3 separate regions of the Homo sapiens genome follow, and all the other regions are linked to region 2. The links are contacts of gene promoters, found by promoter capture Hi-C in blood cells and fetal thymus (Javierre and others, 2016). All regions are on one chromosome and are shown on one strand. The core of a region is centred on a gene start or on the middle of the fragment in contact, and the rest is flanking DNA. Distances in the headings are between cores, read along the strand shown. Region 1 has its middle 17 kb from the start of ZNF80. Region 2 holds the start of CD47 (CD47 molecule). Region 3 overlaps USF3 (upstream transcription factor family member 3).

Region 1 (4,580 bases), core at 1,268-3,767, 6.1 Mb before region 2:
ACCTATATAACAAACTACAGTAAGAGAAATAAGTATAGACAATAAATAAATGGTAAAAGAAAATAAGAGAGATAAGTATGAACAGTGTTAGGAGGGACCAAGTTAAAGGTAATCAATTCTGCATAGAAGGCTCTAGAAAGGCATTACAGAGCACATTATAGTTGAATGGGGTCATGCAGAATGTTTTGGAGCTAGCCAATCAGAAAAGCAACATAAAAACACCATCCATGGGAGAGCAGGCACTGGCTTGGAAAGGCAAAGATATCTTAGGTATCAGATATAAGCAAGTCTCCCATGAGAGCTTAGGGGCAGGGAGCAGAGGGCAAAGGTGAGGGGAACAGAAATATGTGGGAGGTGAAGCTATCTGTCATGACTGAGGCCATAGCATCTTGGATGTGGCCAAGATGCTCTGAAGCATCTTGGATGTGGCCAAGATGCTCTGAAGCATCTTGGATAGTGACAATGCATGTGTGTCTGCACCTGAATTCTTAGAGCTGTGATTGATCTCAAGAGCAAACTGGCATAGCTGCCATCTAAGCTAACATGAGGGAAGGCTGCTCTCAGACATGAAGCTCCCATAATGCTCACTTGTTTTTCGGTGTATAGTTGTCTTTATATGACCAACAGGTGACCCTTTTTACCTACTTCAGGCCTTTCCTGGTACATTAACCAGTCAAGTCAAAGAGCCTAAACATGCTGAGACCCTGAATCGGCCACTGTGGCTTTCAAATACACTGGATTGTCTGGCCTGTGATTTATCTGAAAACGAATCACAAATGGAGCCATGAGTCATTTTCAGCAACCGAGGCTTTAGCGTCAAACAGTAAATTCTGAGAAACCAATTTCCGCTGTGGGCAGAACCCAGCTCCTGGTGTCTAATCATTTGTCCAAGCCTCAGAATGGAGGAAGCTGATGAAATACTGTGACGGGTCCAGCCTGGACAGGATTTGCTTAGGGGATTTCAAAACTTGGAAGGAAAAGTGGAATCCCTTGTCCCTACCTCTCAGTGGAAAGGGGTGAGGACAGGCCCTTGGCGCACACATTCATTCTCCATTCCCAGAGAATTGGGCAGGAATAAGGCCTGCAGAAGAAAGGAAATGACTGCTGGACCACAAGAAAGGTGGGCAGGAACTGAAACAAAAGGTCATTCCAGATCTTCTCCCTGTGGCTCTCTCTCCTGTTCTCTAACAAGAGAAGAAAAGCAACCTGAGCAAGTCCAGCCTCTACTCTCCTCTTTGCAGCAGCTTGTTTCTGCCGCCAGTTGGGCTCTTTCTCTCCAGTCTCAGAGGAAAACGAGGAAAGCATAGCCCTTTGCTCACATCAATCTGTCTACCTGTGCCCCTGAGCTTGATCTTTCCACATCCAATAATAATGGCCAACACTTCCTACACCCTGACCACACCCTTTACACAAAGGGTCTCACGCAATACTCCCAACAGTCTCATGGACTGGAATACTGTTAGTACCTCCATGTTACAGAAGAGGAAACTATGGCACACAGAGGCGAAGTCATTCATCCACAATCATCATCCCCTGCATAGATGTAGAGCTGGAATGTAAACCCAGGTATTCCGACTTCGGAACCCATAGGCTTAGCCTCTACACTGCACTGCTTCCCAGGCAGAAATGAAGCTTAATCATAAAAGCTTCATTTACAGAACACAGGTTCTCTATAGGAAATTTGGGAAAACATAAAGAAGGCACAAAAAATAAATAAGTAAAAATCACCCACAATCCCACCACTTCTACCTTTTTGAGAAGGATATAAATTAAAAAGTGAGAATCCTTTCTTATTTCTGACTTCAGCACTCAAATGTATCCACTGTCCTCTCAGACTGTTTTCCTCTGTTTATACAATTACATATAGGCACATGCACACATGTACAGTGTTTCTTAATAAGACTGCACACTGCACAAGATTTTTTTGCACATTGCTTTTTTCACTTAATATAACACATCTATTCAAACCTTGTGAAATGACTGGTAGTAAACCACTGCTGCCGAACCATAATTTATTCAACAAGTGCTATAATAAATTTGTTTGTCCCTATATCTTTATATACCCATGCTAGTAGTTCTGTAAGATACATTCCAACAAGTGACTGGTAAGATGTGCATTTTCATTTTGCTAATTGTCAAATTACACAGGGAATCCTTAACTCTTTATAATGGCAAAAAAAGAGAGTCGTTGGTAATATGAATCTATATTGTGATGAACACTACACATTGTTTATTTAAGCGTTATTGTACACAAGACTGAATCAGTGATATAAAAGGGGTTTCTCATGTACATTTCTAACCCTTCTTCACTGACAAACTGGAGAAACACTTTCGCCTATTGTGGGTAAGAAAATGTGTCTCCTTCTGACCCTTCTGGAGTTCTCCTACTGTGACATCCTTTTTCTCTCTGACAAATGGGTGCCGTTCTTGCCCACATTAGTTCACATTGTCTCTTTCTTGTAAGGTGACTTTATTTTATTTACTATTTTTTTTGAAAATATACATTCTCAGCACCTGCACTTGTTCAAAAATACTTCAAATGCCAAATCCTTACCAACAACTCTCCTCAGATGGCTGCTCCCTCCAGTACAGTCTGCCAGGGAAATACTTGCTGCTGATTTTTCTGTCCGCTTGCCTGACCCTGCACCTCTGCTCTCTAACTTGCAAATCTGAGGGCTCTGTGTTATGTAGTCAGCAAAGAGGAGGGGAACGTCACTCCTTTTTCAGGAACAGAACATTCCAGATTGAGCTGAGATTCAAAACAGACCATTTGACTCTTCCTGGTCAATGTCTTCAACTTTCCACCTCTGTCTGTTTGCCATCCCTCCCAGAGGGATTTCCCCCTTAGCCTGCTAGCACACTCTCTGCCCTGTCAGCCAAACACGCATCTCCTCAGGGACCCTGCACTTGTCCTTCACCCACTGTGGTCAGATAAGCCCAGGAGTCCCACTCTTCACACCTTTACTTGAACCAGCATCTCCATGCATTAATTATGACCCCTGCCTGAGAGGCAGTGTAACCTAATCCAGAGCATGTGGGGCTTTGGAATCAGAAAGTTTGAAGTTCAAATCCTGATGCTTAGCCCTGTTGCCTGTGTGATCTTAGGCAAGGCATTTGACTTCCCTCTTCTTCAATTTCCTCAATTATTAAATAAGTATAATAAAAAATGAACTCACGGGAAGGTTGAAAGCATGTAGTATATATTGTCTGACACACGCAGACTTGTAACACTTTGTAGCTATTCTTAATATCATTCCACAGCCAAATTTTTCAGATGAGGCGTTATTGGTAATGTCATATAAAATTTTAGGATTGTTTCAAATTTGGGAATTCTATCAAGTTTCTTTCATACACGAGCCTTGAAAGAGGCTCCAAATCTTAAAGCTTCATTAGCTTCAGAGTAAACACACCCTCTGCAGGTGGTATGTGATGAACTGGGACACTTATGCATGACTGAAGGTAGTGTGACTAATACAGCCCTTGCACAGAGGGTCGCATCTCCACGAAGGGGACAGCCAGGATCTACAGTCTTTAAATACTTGTTCAGTCTCGGGAGACTGCTCTGCCAGCCTCCACCATTCTCAAACTGCGACGAGGGAGTGACTCAGATGAGGCCAGGTAGCTGGCCAGCCAGCTGGTGTGCAGTCACATTTGCAGAGAAGTCTATTTGCACCGAGGACATGCCAGGCGTGTTGTCACTCATACTAAGGTTTTCAACCTGGGCAAGTTATGAAATGTGTAGAGATTTTTGGTTATCGCAGTGCCTGTGGATGGGAGACTCTATCAACATGTAATGGGCACAGGCAACAGGTGTTCTATAACCCTGCACTGCCAGGGGCAGTCCCACCCAATAAAGAATCGTTCCTCCCAAAATGCCAATAACGCTCTTTTGGGAAACCATCTGTAGGGCTTAGACTTCAACATGCCTTAAGTATTGTTTCCCATCTCGGCGAGCTGGGCTAGAACATGGGATAAGCTGTTGGGACTCCTTTTGTCCCTCAGCTTGGAGGCTAGGTTACAATCATAGATGCCCCCTCCTGTCTCCTTCCCTGGACCCTATCTCCGTTCCCATTTGACTTCCAATGCAGAAGGAATGGAAGCCAAATTGATACTGTTCAATCTATAAAGCTTTGACTTCAAACCCCTATGTAATACCCTTGTAGGTGAGCTGTAATTTGGCATCTTGCCTCCAAGCTTATACACAAAGAGAAGCCAACTGAAAGAAAAACCAAGCCACCGAATCTTGGGATTCCTCAGGGGAATACCGCTCTCCAGCACCATTGTCCAAATGCCACTGATTCTCCCCCAACCCTGATCCCTTCCCCAGGGCTTGAAGTATGCCAAATATGGGAGGCCCCCTAGGTCTTATCAGAAGAACTCAAGAAAACAATAATTCTTGAGTCAACACTTCCTGAGTGCTCACTATGAGCCAGGCTCTGTGCTATTTTATATACACTATGTTACTTAGTCCCAAGTGACATAAAATAAAGCTCACATTAGAAAAAGACAAGACAATTTGTGCTAGTCCGGTCCCTTGGCATTAGTGGTTGAGGATTTCTTGAACTGGGGTGAGGCTATGC
Region 2 (4,769 bases), core at 1,521-4,020:
GCATGACACACCACCATGGGGCAAAACATTTGCTGAATGAAGTTACAATAAGGATACAATTGTATCTACATAAACATTTAAAGATACTATCATATCAATACCTACTATGTGGCAGGATCTTGATGTTGTGTGGGGAGGAAGATAAAAGTAGATGTATCGTTGAGACAGAAATGAGGGCAAGGGAAATTTTTTATGCATTGAGAGAGGAAGTTTGTGAATTTTTTCGCTGGCCATGGAGTCAGGGAGACTTCAGTCCAACCACCGTCCCTCCCTGAGCTTGTGACCAAGCCTCACTTTCCTTATCTATAAAGGTGACAAGAGTGATTTTTTTAAGTTTATTTATCTGTAAAGGGGAAACTGTAGCAACTTTGCTATTATAGGGTAAAAAGAAAAAAGGATGAAAACCAGAACAAGGGAGAGAGACAAGAGAGAGAGCAGTGTCACTTATAACTGTGGGCAAAGTGCTCACCATTCCTCTTTCCCTTTGTTTCCTCATCTCAAAAAGGGAGATCATAACATTTATCCTTTCTGAGGTTGTTATGAAGATTAACTTAGGTGATATAGCTAATGTGTACTTCCTGTGTTCAAAACATTCTAATATGTATTATCCCCTCCCTCTCTACCCAAGAAACTCCTTACATACAGATAAGATGAGCTCAACATCCAAATTAAAATGCTTTGAAAAGTTAAAAGGCAAACCTTTAAAATGATTAAATACTGAAAAGAGCTTAAGGTTATCTCAGAGAGAGGATAATCAAACCTAGGCAGGCTGCTTTGGACTGTCTCTCCTGGGATATGCCTGCTTTTGCCCCACCACCAAAACATACCCCAGCTAGATTCCCAAGAGCAGCAGTGGTCACCCAGGTGGCCTCTCATTCCATTTTCTGCACAAAAAGACGTTAAGCATATAGCTCAGTAGCTCCCAGTGTAAAACAGAACATCACCCGATCTCCACCTCTGAAGGTTGGGGACAGTCCTTTCTAGTCACTCTTCAGCTTTAGGGGGGTTGGTTGGTATCAGGGACAGCTGACAGCCTTATTTAGCCAACCAGCTGCTCTGTGATACACAATGTCCCTAATGCTCAAAGTCTGGTGGATGATTCTTTTGTATCCACATAAGCAGCAGTTGGAGGAGAATCGATGAGTCCCTTTGGTTGCCTCGGGGTGTCAAGGCTGCCATTCAAATCATTACCACCATAATTATTAACCATTGTTTTAGTGAGATGTCTGCCAGGCAATTGTTTTTATTTTTCAATCATTAAAAAAGCAATCAAATTTCACTAGAGCAATGCCTGCCTCACGCCGCATCAACACATTTATTAAACCCCTTCTGTTTGCCGAGCTCAATGGAAAGTCTTGGAGGAGGGAATACTTAAAATGCTCTCGGATTTAAAAGAATTGATAATGCTGTGGGGAAGAGGTTCACACAAAAAAGCAATTACAGGAAGAAGCTCGATAGTATACAATACACTGGTACAGAGTGTCATAGACAGTGCCACTTTCATACGCTGGATTTTATTTCTGTGGCAATGGGATGCTTGGGAGGAGCCGCACTGTGTAGAGGATTTGGAGAAGTGGGGTATTGTGGTGGGAAATTGCTTTCTTTCCCAGGAGGTAGGAGGAAAACAATCAAGGAGGTGGACAGGATGTGCACTCCATTAGAGCAGCCACCAGAGCCTGACTTTTTGATAAGAGAGTACATCAGTTAGGATAACGGTTAAAAGTATCTTTAAAAGACTTTTGCTTCAGGATGAATGATGTGGCCTGTGTGATTCAGCGATAAATTCAAAAGCCTTGTCCCTATTGTGGCTTGCGGCCACATTTCGAACCCATTTTTCAAGCATGTTAAACCCAAGCGCAGCGCAGAGGGCTGCACATGGGGCAGTCACAAACCAAGCTCAATAACCTTGCTGGTGGGGATGTGTTGGATACGCTGCTAATGCCTGTTTGCGACAATGCTCGCTAGTCCCGGTGGTGGCGGTGTTCACAGGTAACAATGTTTACCACCGTGAATGGAACTTGTTTGATTAACCCTGATCAGAGGATGAAAACACTAAAGAACCAAGTGAGAAAGAGGGAAGAGAACCGCATAGGGAAGAGCAGAGCGAGTAGACGAGCCGAACGCAGAGCCCGCGAGGGGCGAGTGGAAGCTCCCTGCGGGCAGGTACCCGACCACCGCCCTGCCCTGGGCGTGGCGGCCTCGGGCTCAGGGACCGCTTCGGCGCTAGACGGCCGCGTCCGGAGGAAACGGGCGCTGGTGAAAGCCTAGGTGTCCTGGTCCACGCGCGCAGCCGGACGTCGGGTCCAGGGAGAGACGCGGGCTGGGGCGGGACGGGACCCGGCCCCTGAAGCGCGAGGGTGGGAGTGAAAGCAAAGAGGAGAAAAGTAGAGAGAGAGGACAGTGGGGCCCAGCGCCGCGCGAAAGGCAGGAACCGACCCGCGGACAGGAACGGGTGCAATGAGGTCCCCGGCGAGCGTGGGAACACAGGGTTCAGCCTCCTGCGGCGGGCGAGCACGCGGACCCCAGGGGCGGGCGGGTGCGACAGGACGTGACCTGGAAGCGCGGCGCGTGCCACCGCCCTGGAGCAGGCATCCGGCCTCCGTGGAGCGGGCAGGCGGGCCCCGGGTCTGGAGCCTGCGACTGGGGAGGGCGCCGCGTCAACAGCAGCGGTTGCGGGGCGGGGCCGAGTGCGCGTGCGCGGCTCTCGCGGGCGGGGAGCAGGCGGGGGAGCGGGCGGGAAGCAGTGGGAGCGCGCGTGCGCGCGGCCGTGCAGCCTGGGCAGTGGGTCCTGCCTGTGACGCGCGGCGGCGGTCGGTCCTGCCTGTAACGGCGGCGGCGGCTGCTGCTCCGGACACCTGCGGCGGCGGCGGCGACCCCGCGGCGGGCGCGGAGATGTGGCCCCTGGTAGCGGCGCTGTTGCTGGGCTCGGCGTGCTGCGGTGAGTGGCTCCTCGCTCCCAGCCCTGCGGCTGCTGTCGCTTCGCCCCCGCGGGCGTGTGGGCTGCGCCCCAGCCAGCCCGGCGGCGCCCTGAAGAGGGTGGCCGGGGCGCAGAACACTCGGGCCCTGAGCGCCCGAAGTGCAGACGTGGGAGGGCCCCACGGGGAATCGGGCGCCCCCCTTCTTCCTCCCTTCCTTTCCCTGGTCGTCTTCTTCCCCCTGGGTGAGAGCGGGGCTCATCTCCTCCACCCGGTTCTCCATCTCCAAATGCACACACACAGGAAGACTCCAAACCGCGCACCTCGCGCAAAAATTAACTAGCAAGAAAGGGCGCGATCAGAGGCAAGGGGCTGCAGCTGCTAGGGATCCCCTTCTTTCGCACCCCTCTCCCTTCTCAGTGCTTAGACGCATTTGGGGTTGAGGGAGGGAGAGTGGGAGGGCCCGGGCCTCTTGCGATGGAAGTGCGCATTTTGGCGAAGTCGGTGAGAAGGGGTTTCTGCCGTTTGCCTCCCACATGAACATAGGAGCGAAGAGGACGTAAAGGACACAATTAAGTTTCATTTTCAACTCAGCATTCAATCAGAAGAATCTTCCGGCCGTGTAATTTTTGCTGTCGTTTTTAATCCTAAAAATAAGCTTGCTGGAAACTCTTCCTTTCTCGTGACCCTCACGCCCCATCAGCCACTTGCATACATTCTAAATTGTACGTTGAAGTTTTTCCCACTTTATTTGGGGGAACCGTTTTAAAAGTAATCTGGTTTTCGCCTGAAATAGGAAGACAGTAACCTCCAGTCAAAACATGTGCAGCAGAATGGGATTTGGTGTTTTTCGACGCCAAAGAACCTCCACCCCCCCACCCCCACCCCGAGCTTTTGGAATCCATTTCGCTTTTGTAAAACGTGTGCTTCGTCTGTAAAAACTGAGCAAGGAATAGAAACATTCGTAGCTCTACAGTGAGTGCCTGTCACACTTCACATCCATAGAGCCTTTTGTGAACTTTTATAAGATTCAGAATTCAGCTTGAGCACCAGTGACAGCAATTGTTACATTTATTCTAGAATGCTAAATTAATTCGATTTTAAACTGATTATTAGCCTCGGTGTGCCGTTCCTAAAGGCTTGTGACTTTAGGTATTTCCAAGATGCCCTTAAGTCTCTGCTTACCACTTTCCTCCCTCCCCGAGCATCCTGGATGTTGGGACTGTGAATCCAGGTCTCCGTTATCTAAATGGTTGATGTTAGTGTTTCCTGTCATCACGTTTAGTATGCTTGTTGCCTTTACTATCATTATAGCTAAAATAATACTGCTTTCAGAGATGTGTTGTATAATCGCATAATAATTTCAGAACGCCTTCATATTGAACCAGATATGAAGTGATACAGTATCATTTATTCAAACTGCCTAAAAAGTAAAAAGTATAAACCATATACTATTTTTAAAACAGGTAGGTTAGATTTAAATCACGTAGTTTAGAACTGTTGGAATGGTACTTTGAGTGATAGGATTTATGTTAGGCCTTCTTTAGTAATAGTTAATATCATGTAATTAGCACTCGTTTACACACAATTTTAATGTGTTCGAATCCCTAGAGTCATCGAATTCAGAATTTATAGTATTTTATTTTACTTAGTTAATATTAACCTAAAAAAAAAGCAAAATACAGGCATTATGCAGTTGAGTTGTGTTAAGTGTGGACTGTAAAACAGGATAGTATTTGTTATAAAATATGTTTTTGTATGTGTTTAATATATAGCTTCAAAAGGACATGTATGAAGAAAGATGTCTCAGCACATAGGTAGTTATAAACCAAGGGTTTGAGAGACTGACTTTAG
Region 3 (4,394 bases), core at 698-3,197, 5.6 Mb before region 2:
TGTCCAACTTTCCCCCCACTGCTTTTGCTACAGACGTTGACGTTGACCTTTCTCAGGATATGGACACCTTTCCTCTATTCCTCCCTACCGCCAATAATAGTTCTAATTACACTTTTATGAAAGTTTTCTGGATAGCTTACTCTAGTTCTTAGTGATCGACCCCCTTTGAACTTCTATGCTACATGGTTAAAAGATTCTCTTTAGGCTTACGGTATGTGGCAGTTTAAGTTCTATGTGTATGTGTTTCATTGTTCTCAAATGTTATGCTAAGGAATATTTTATTTTTCATCTCTTTCACAGTGGTTTTAAGTTGGATTGGTTTGGTTTGGAACCCTTCTGACTCTTCCTGCAACCATAGTTTTAGGTTTGATTTCATCTTAGGTATGTTAGTAGCTTCATCATACCTTAACTAGCATTGAATTCCTGTATAGACATCCGTTTTTTTCATATCTTTTCTTAATTTCATTAGTAGATGATTTATCTTCCGTGGCCCCGTAACAGTTGTACTTGTTTCTGTGCTAGCACTTAGCACACTGCCATAAGTATGTGTTTATATGCCTTCCCCACCATACTGCTAACCAGGGCCTCCATGTTGAGCAACTCCAGGGGGTACCATTCACATATTCTTGAATACCATTGCAACATGGCAGAAATAGAACTCCACTAACATAGGAAATGTGTTCTTTTTATCTTTGTATTTTTGGGACCTAACATTGTATTTGTGATTACTAGGCAGTTAATAAATGTTCTTAAATGAGTAAATGACTGCCATGTTATATATTATAAAAAGATAGCCATATACATCTTGAACGTAAGTTGATTTGGCATTAATTGATTTTGCTATTAAATATTTTTATGTCCTATACTCCTATTATAGATTTGTTAAAGGTTAGTAGAATCTAAGTGATTGTAGTTGTGACAGACCCCTTAAATATGTAATCTTCCTTCCAGTATGCACAGGCATATATGTGTCCTGAGTCTTTTACTCTGTGCTGTAAAGGTATACATTTATTATTCATAAAATATTTGTGGAACTCTTGCTAAAAGAAACGTGGTTAACTGTCCAATTGGATAATTTTTCTTTTTCTCATTAAAATTTCCATATGGGGACAATTGCACTACTTCAGAAGGCCAGATCTTTTAATTAGATCAGTAGGACATGATAAGTTGTTTCTATTAGTGTGCTAATACTGTGTTTTTAATTCAGTTCACCAAGTATTTATTATTTACCATGTGCCCAACACTGTTAGGTACTGAAGAGAATACAGAAATAGTAAATGGTGGACTCAGCTCATAAGAACGTTTTAGACTTATTAGGATTGTTTAAGGAACTCAATGGAGTATTCATTAGATGCTAAATTAAACATAAGTATGTAAAATCTATGACATAATGATTAATACAAAAAAAAGGAAAGACCAGATATTCTTTCAGCAGACATTTATTACTCAGTTACTGAGTGCTAATTGTTGAGGATACAAACATGAAATTTTTTTTCATGTTTGTATTCTCAGTAATATGAATAATATGAATTTTTTACATATTTGTATTCTCAATAATTAGCACTCAGTAATGGAGTAATAAGTTTCTACCATTTATTATAGTCTGGTGGTGAAAACTAGTAAGTATATAGATTGTATTTCATGTTAAGACATTGTGGAGTATTAGGATGTTTGGGAGTATGAAGAAGGGTATTTAGTCTAACCTCTAAGGCAGGGGTCCCCAAGTGGCCTGTTAGGAATCAGGCCGCACAGCAGGAGATGAGCTACCCTCCTGTCAGATCAGCGGCAGCATTAGATTATCATAGGAGTGCGAGCCCTATTCTGAACCACACATGCAAGGGATCTAGGTTGCATGTTCCTTATGATCATCTAATGCCTGAGATAGATGGAACAGTTTCATCCTGAAACCATCTGCTCCACTCCCTGTCCATGGAAAAATTGTCTTCCACGAAACCAGTCCCTGGTGCCAAAAAGGTTGGGACCACTGCTCTAGGGGTCAGAGAAATCTTTAAAGAGGATAATGAAGAGTTCTCAGGAATTCCTTAAACAGCAGAAACCAAAGAGAAGGAGATAAGGAGAAGAAATTGTAGTGTCACCGCTGTCTACCTCTGTGTCATTTGAGGGACCAGTTTCTCTTTGGTTATAAACAATAGAGATTGAATTTGGCTAAGCAGCAAATGGATACTGGATAAACTCACAGAAAGAAAGGGAGATAGAATAATGAAGGCTTGGGAAGGCCAGGAAAACAGAAGCTCCCAGGATCATAAGGATCCATGGGGCTAACTCAGCCTCAGCAAGATATTCTCCTTGTGCAGGGAGTCTTATTAGTTAGCCCCATGCCCACCCCAGAGGTGAGCCTGTGTTTGATGGTCCTATCAGATTTCAGGAATGGGACAGAGAAGATCTCCGAAGGAAAGGCAGGATATTATTGTCAGAAGGCCAAAACAACAGATTTATTACAAAGTTCATCGGATTTGGCAGTGTGGAAGTCTTTTGTTGAGCTTGGTTTAAGCAGTTTTAGGAATAAAAGTCAGGTAACAGCTGGTTGAAGAGTGAATAAGAAGTGAGGAAGAGGGGGTAGTAAGTGTAAACAACTTGTTCAAGAAGACTGGTGGTTGGGAGGAAGAATGGGGACACCTGTGGGGAGTTGCAAGGTCAGGAGAAAAATCAGTTTAGGTTTTTACATGGAAAAAGTTGAATAAGGATTTATTTTTATTTTTGTTGAGATGGGATCTCACTCTGTCTCCCAGGCTGGAGTGCAGTGGTGCGATCTTGGCTCACTGGAACCTTCGCCTCCTGGGCTCAAGCCATCCTCCTACCTCAGGCTCCTGATTAGCTGGGATTACAGGTTTGCAGCACCACACCTGGCTAATTTTTTGTATTTTTGGTAGAGATGGGGTTTTGCCTTGTTTCCCAGGCTGGTCTCAAACTCCTGAGCTCAAGTGAGCCACCTCCCTTGGCCTCTCAAAGTGCTGGGATTACAGGTGTGAGCCACCGTGCCTGGCCCTGAATAAGGATATTTTTAATGGAAAGGCACTAAGAGAGAAGGAGGGATTAATAATATATGAGAGAAAAGGGACATTATGTAAGAAGTTTACTAAGTAGCGAGAGTGATAGAGTCCAGAGTATAGGTAGAGGGTTTAGTTTTGCTAGAAATATTAGGGAAGATTTTATATAGGAGGATAGACTTGCACCGGACTTTAAAGGGTTGGTAGGATTTGGATAAACAGAGCAAAGTGGAAAGGTCATTTCAGTGGGAAAATAGCATGAATTTAGCATAAAGTGAAGTAGCTGATAAGGCGCACAGGGATAAACCTGTCTGAATTGAAGAGGAGGGAAGGGTAGATGGCATAATTAGCTAGAAAACCTGCTTTTATGTGTGTTGTACTAGGTGGAAGGGGGTAGGTGAGACCTGCCAGTGAAGAAGGTACAGTCATGAATGCCAAGACCTGGAGTTTGGATATGATGCAGTTGATTGTGGGAAATAGTACTGTAGAGTCTGCAGCAGGAGAGGACATGGTAAATATGGTGAACTGAAAAGACTGATGAGACATTGGGGTATAAAATCCATCAAATGGGAGAAAGGCTGAGGGCAATAACAAAGACTGCTTAAGGCCAGACGTGTAAAATGGGGCCTAATCTAAGGTGGTCATAACAAAGGGGAAGAGATGAACATTATGAAAACAATTGATAGAATTTGGTGAGAAGATATGAAGATTTTTGGGTCTAGATCCATGTTAAACTTTTGGTGTCATTGATAAAATGGAGAACTTGGAAATAGATCTCTTAAGAGAAAAGGGAATTTAACACATTCCAAACAGACTTGTTAATTTGTTCAAAATGCAGTGTTCTGAAGAGAGCTTTGCCTAACCAAAGATTAGGGGCAAAGTCAGAGTTGAAAGGTAGCTTTCTTACAAAAACATAAAAGCTTTTGCACAGAAGCAGTTTAAACCTTTGTAGGGAAAAAGCAAACCTGAAAAAGAGAAGAGATTGTTGGGCCTTGGAACTCAAAGGAGAAAGAAAAGCGTTCATGTTAGAGAAAGAGGATGCATAATTGGAGAGGAGAAAGATAACCTAGGAGAGAGAATTTCAAGAAAGAGAGAGATCAGCAGCCTCAAATCCTGCCAAGAGGAAAATGACCTATGATTGGTGAAAAATAGCCCCTGACCTCCAAGGAAGCAGCTTTGGTTGGCTGGAGCAGCCAGAAGGTTTAGGAGAGATTGGCCAAGTTGGAGAGGTGAGAAGTTTCACAGGAACATGAGGAGAGAAATAGACTTGTAGGCAGAAAAGGCAGTAAATTCTTGTTTAACATGAGGAAAATCCTTGCATTTTGGAAGGAGAGCTGGTTAAGAGAGAAAATAGTGCTAAAGTGGAAAAAATCAAATATAGTTTCC

Evidence for each region. Contacts are between HindIII fragments. The CHiCAGO score rates a contact against its expected background, and 5 or more counts as called.
Region 1: a contact is called between a fragment that was not itself captured here and the fragment with the promoter of CD47 in region 2, in 1 of 17 cell types (activated CD4 T cells). The highest score is 6.1, in activated CD4 T cells.
Region 3: a fragment that was not itself captured here is called in contact with the fragment with the promoter of CD47 in region 2 in 1 of 17 cell types (neutrophils); the score reaches 5.9 in neutrophils.

The regions. Positions count from the first base shown.
Region 1 is chr3:114,217,985-114,222,564 of GRCh38, reverse strand. No RefSeq gene overlaps it. Among named protein-coding and RNA genes, the nearest start is that of ZNF80, 17 kb to the left of the region's middle. The HindIII fragment of the contact is 1,738 bases long and covers 1,649-3,386 here.
Region 2 is chr3:108,089,032-108,093,800 of GRCh38, reverse strand. CD47 (CD47 molecule) reads left to right here and starts at 2,770. Exons shown (of 11, transcript NM_001777.4): 1 at 2,770-2,938. The coding sequence starts at 2,893. RefSeq lists silencers at 2,157-2,216, 2,227-2,276, 2,297-3,046. The HindIII fragment of the contact is 8,318 bases long and covers 1-3,575 here.
Region 3 is chr3:113,689,518-113,693,911 of GRCh38, reverse strand. All of the region lies in intron 1 of USF3 (upstream transcription factor family member 3), which reads left to right. Among named protein-coding and RNA genes, the nearest start is that of USF3, 4.9 kb to the left of the region's middle. The HindIII fragment of the contact is 3,967 bases long and covers 1-3,930 here.